Linked DNA regions of Homo sapiens: region 2 is linked to region 1. The links are contacts of gene promoters, found by promoter capture Hi-C in human tissues and cell types (Jung and others, 2019). All regions are on one chromosome and are shown on one strand. The core of a region is centred on a gene start or on the middle of the fragment in contact, and the rest is flanking DNA. Distances in the headings are between cores, read along the strand shown. Region 1 holds the start of DAD1 (defender against cell death 1). Region 2 has its middle 150 kb from the start of TRD-AS1.

What was found. The method cuts DNA at HindIII sites, captures the fragments that hold promoters and counts their contacts. A contact is called where the count stands out against the background at its distance.
Region 2: a contact is called between a fragment that was not itself captured here and the fragment with the promoter of DAD1 in region 1, in 1 of the 25 tissues and cell types used here (bladder).

What each region holds. Positions count from the first base shown.
Region 1 is chr14:22,587,974-22,590,673 of GRCh38, forward strand. DAD1 (defender against cell death 1) reads right to left here and starts at 1,251. Exons shown (of 3, transcript NM_001344.4): 1 at 974-1,251. The coding sequence starts at 1,184. RefSeq lists enhancers at 248-889, 890-1,531. The HindIII fragment of the contact is 2,964 bases long and covers 481-2,700 here.
Region 2 is chr14:22,330,731-22,333,430 of GRCh38, forward strand. It overlaps TRA and the pseudogene LOC100420343. Among named protein-coding and RNA genes, the nearest start is that of TRD-AS1, 150 kb to the right of the region's middle. The HindIII fragment of the contact is 6,283 bases long and covers 1-2,700 here.

The sequences.
Region 1 (2,700 bases), core at 1-2,500:
GATCTGCCTACCTCGGCCTCCCAAAGTACTGGGATTACAGGCATGAGCCACTGTGCCAGGCCTCCAGACAATTCCAATGCTGTATTTTGTCTGTACCCCAACTAGACCATAAACTCTTTACGGATAAAGAACATGTGCCAAAGCTTTTACCATAATGCCTCATATTGGACTGAAAATACAACTGATGACCTGACTGATGATCACACTGAAAAGAAACCATGAATGCTGGCATGTTTTCAAAGTCAAAGTAGCAGGTGATACCAGTGATAGAGGCCACGCCTGTTTTCAGTATTCACTGAATCCCCGTTGGGCAAGAAAAGTCAGATTTTAACAAAAATTGATGGAGACTGTTCTCGCTAAATATAGCAGTCTACAAGGTTACCAAATCCTGGAATCAAAAGGAAAAATAAGGCTAAAATAGAGTTATGTGAACAAAAATTGGGTTCAGGACAGTGAAATAACAGCTTCCTCAACAAGAAAAAAAGTAGTAGCAGCTAAAAGGCAAAATCAAGTAAAGGATGATTCAACAAGAAAAGCACCAGTATTTATATTCTTTGCACTTTCATTGAAACGTTTCACCGGAGATTGGTAATGATTAGGCCAAGATGACAGAGATGATTCAAGGTTGGGTTTTTCATTTGAAAAGTCTACTAATTTTAGAGTTGTGTTAAACCTAAGTTAAAGTTGGAATAGGGTTTTCCCCGGACCAATATTAAGTGAAGTGGATCACCAAGTGGAGTAGCGGCACGAAGGTGGTTTCTTTAGACTTTTAAGTCCAACTCCTACGGAGCCGTTTGGTATTAGGCATATAATCTAAGCTTTCTGAGCCTCAATTTCCCCATTCACAACAAAAGGGCAATGCAGGCTCTTCTCATAACTTCAAGGGGCGGTGGTCTGATATAGAGTACTATGAAAACAAAAGCAGCACACCAAAGTAACACATTATTATTATGATCACTTATAGAACCATTACCCGCTAGGATGAAACTCCCCACACAAGAGATGAAGCCCGAGAGAAAAGAGTTGAAGGGGAAGGTCCCCACGAGGAGACAGTAACCGAACTGCAGCGCCCCGGTCAGCAGTATATACAGCAGGTACGCGTCCAGCAACTTCAGACGCTGCGGAGTGGAGCTCAAGTACTCTTCTAAGAACCGCGAAATGACAGACACTACCGACGCCGACATAACTGCACGCAAGGTACTCCGGTCCGCGCCCCAAACTCTTGGAGGACCCGTCGACCACACCGGATGTGCTGTTTGCGCATGCGCACCCTCGTGACCTAACTCCGCCCTCCCCGGTGTGCCAATTTGCGCAGGCGCTGAGGCCGGCCAGGGCGCGTAACAACTAATGCGCAGACGCGGACTGCATCAACAGACTCAACTACAACTCAGAAAAGTTAATGCGTCTGCGCAATGGCCCTATCAATGAGCTGGGGACGTGTACTCTTTCTGTTCTGTTTCCGCCCGTCAGCTCGGTGACGCCCACAGTTGCTCTGGCAACAAGACACACTGGGAGGAAGAGGGGAATAAGCTTTACTGGGGACCGCGTAGCTAACCAGAGGTATCCGGCTCTCTCTGGTCCTTCTGAGTCCTGGAAGATTTAACGGTTTGCATCTACTTTGAGGCAATGCCTGGCGTTCCTGGGGTTTGATACCAGCCTGACCCTAATTCTGTTAAGGGCGCTGTCTGCAGATGTCTGTCACAGATCATTGGAACAAGTCAAGTTCATCCGCAGTGAGACCCGGCGCGGCCAATCACTGCACAGGCCCCAGTTTAGACTTAATTACTTGGGGGAGTGAGTGGGTGTGGTGAGGGGCGGGAGGCAGGGAGGAAGCCTGACCTCAGCAGGGTTCTGAACTGGAACTCGGGATCTGGCCCTGCAATGCCAACATTTATTGGGCGCCTCCTTGGGGCCTGACGTTGTACTAACTTGTAGGGACTCTCACGTGAATCAGATATATTTGCAGCCTTAAAAGAGCTGGTGAAGGGAGGGACAGCTGTCGAATGTCGTGCAAAAAGCATATGGTCAAGTTTAGCAGCTCTCTTTCCGCAAGCTGGTATCTTGAACCTGGTGTAATATCCCGGGATGTCAGCGTCGAAAGGCCCGAAAGAGCATGCCTGGTTCAACCCTACTCTCTCCAACTCATTTTGCAGAAGAAACTGAAATGGTTTCAGGTTTTGTATTTTAACAAGTGGGATTATTTTGAGGGTTTTAACTGTTTTTTTTTTTTTTTTTGAGACGGAGCCTTGCTCTGTCGGCCAGGCTGGAGTGCAGTGTCGCGATCTCGGCCCACTGCAACCTCCGCCTCCCTAGTAGCTGGGACTACAGGCACGCGCCACCACGCCCGGCTAATTTTTGTATTTTCAGTAGAGACGGAGTTTCACCATTGTTAGCCAGGCTGGTCCCGAACTCCTGACCTTGTGATCCGCCAGCCTCGGCCTCCCAAAGTGCTGGGATTACAGGCATGAGCCACTGCACCCGGCCTGTTTTAACTTTTTTTAAGAAATTAAGTTCTGGCTTTCGTTGCCCTTTTAATTTCACGTGAATCCGACCTTCTAGACCCAGTTCATCTCACCTTTTAGCTGTAAGTTTTTCCACACATGACCAGGTACTTTATTTTCAGCTTCTTAATATTTTGAACTGTACGTGAGCAAAATTCCTAAAACAGCAGGTGAACAACAGCGTTCCTGCCTTTTCACT
Region 2 (2,700 bases), core at 167-2,666, 260 kb before region 1:
ATCTTTGTAGCAAAGTAATATTTTTATATGAACATGTCAGAGGCATTTGAACCAGAGCAACTCCATCTTGAATAGGGGCTGGGTAAAATGAGGCTGAGGCCTACTGGGCTGCATTCCCAGGAGGCTAATGCATTCTTGGTCACAGGATGAGAAAGGAGGTTGACACAAGATACAGGTAATAAAGACCTTGCTGATAAAACAGGTTGCAGTAAAGAAGCCTGCTAAAATCCACCAAAACCAAGATGGCGACAAGAGTGACCTCTGGTCATCCTTATTGCTACACTCCCACCAGTGCCACGACAGTTTACAAATACCATGGCAATGTCAGGAAGTTACCCTATCTAAAAAGGGGAGGCATGAATAATCTACCCCTTGTTTAGCATATAATCAAGAAATAACCATAAAAATGGGCAATCAGCAGCCCTCAAGGATGCTCTGTCTATGGAGTAGCCATACTTTTATTCCTCTAGTTTCTTAATAAACTTTCTTTCACTTTACTATATGGACTCACCCTGAATTCTTTCTTGCGTGAGATCCAAGAACCCTCTCTTAGGGTCTGGATTGGGACCCCTTTCCAGCAACAAAGAGATGTGTATTTTATTTCTGAAAATACTTTTTTGCTTTGTTATCATTCTCATGTTAGGCCAGCAGCTCAGGAAGTCCTGGTCTCCTTCCTATATTGGAAAAGGGAGTTCACAATGAACACAAAAGAAGAAAGGATAAATTTGAAAATTCCTCTGGAGACAATAGAATGGAAAAAAGGGGTTTTGAGTTTGGGTTACGACTTTTGAGTTTAAAAATAAATCTATGCCTCAAAAAGTTCTCTTAGAATATATCTGAATACAAAAACCAATTATGCAACCCTAGATTTAATGCAAATTTCTTAGTTTCTGGGAATTTCTGGGGTGATGGAGACAAAAGCAAGAAAGTAAGACATCAGTGAAGATCTCTGCCCATCTCCACATACCCTCCCAGCAGTGGGGTGGGAGGAGGCAATTTTTAGCCCCCAAATAGGATGTTAGGAATCTGAAACTAGAGGAGATTGACAACTAATTCCTCTCAGAAAGACTGAGTGACAGTATCCTGCAAATTTCCACCAGGGCAGAGACAGCTGTGCAGTAGTGCCAATAGGCCCAGAAAGCCCAAGACAGCCCCATTCTGCCAGACTGGAATTAGAGTAGTTGAATTTTTGCATGCACACAAAAAGCATAGAAATTAACAGAGAGAGACTTAGTGGACCTGGATGGGTGTCAATATTATAATAAAAAGGATGCAGAGCATATAGATTAACAGCCAGAGACCTACAGGGACTCAGACATCAGGACATTAGAAACAATAATGTCCCAGACTGGACCCTAAGCACTGCACCCCAACAGATGCCAGTATGGGCCAGGTGTCCCCAACCAATGCCAGACCACCAGTTAAGGCCTCTACATTCCACCCCAAGGATGGCGAGGAGGAAATCTGAACTGATGGAAGACATCCTGAATTGACTTAGAAAGTCATGATTTTACTGAGAAAACCCTGTATTTACTTAAAGCAAGCTTTCTGACACCACGCAAAGTGGTTACCAGAGTTAGAAATTAGGCTGTTATAGAAAATAAAGCTATCCTGGATTGAACATCTGAGTAAATTACAAAACATTTACCCGCTACATCTCTATTCACCAGATAGCGAACTCAAGCATTCCTCTGCCCCTACATAAATGACAAATGACATTCACGTGTATTACATATCCCCTCAGGCCTAACTAGGGCTGTGTGCTGTTTCCAAGACCAAAATGTCACAACTGTAAACCACTCACCTGGATACTTGCTATAAGAAATAGCTTGGATTAGTATGGAACTTGGTGTAACCCTCAAATATGGGAGTTTGTCACTAGAGGTACCAGAGGACCACATTCTCTGTTAGGGGACCTCGATGACAGTATATTACAATGAAGGCAGTGACTGGCAAACAGCAGCTTCAAATAGGCATGCAAACAAACATTGAGAAACAGTAAGCACATAAGATAACTCATTTAGACACTTTTATATGCAGCATGTATAGGATTTAAAATAACATTCCCAAGTTGAACTGAAACCATTACTATGTAAATGCCACAGCCAAGTCAAATGAAATAGTAAATACCAGCCTTGCAAATTGGTCTCCCTCAAGGGCACTCAAAAGAGTTAGACTGCGTGCTGCTGCCTTAGGAAATGTCCTCCTCTCTATCAATCATTTCTGCTTTGACATCAAACCCATTGACCAGCATATGTTTTGGAATTTCTGAACAACTGACTTTCAAGGATTCACATTCATTCTGCACTTTCTTAGAAACCTCACAGGAGCCACTGTTGCCAATAAAATAAAATAAAAAAACACAAACATTATAAATCTAACCCCAAAATGGGATTGCTTCAAAAGAGAATGGACACCCCACTCCCTACATTGCTTGTACACATCTGTGTTGATTCTCTTGGTGAACTGGCCCATGCAAGCAGGAGCTCATCAATCAGCAGTTGTCACCAAGTGCAAGTCAGAATTGCTCAACAGAAAAATTGAGTCTTTTTTTATTCCCTATTGTCACCTACTAAAATGTAAGTTGCTTGTTGATCTCATCACACTGAGCTATGTTTCAGGGAAGTGTTGAAAAGGCCCAGCCTGCGCATATTCTTGAAATTTTGAAATAATGGCTCAGTGAACAGATGTATACTTTCT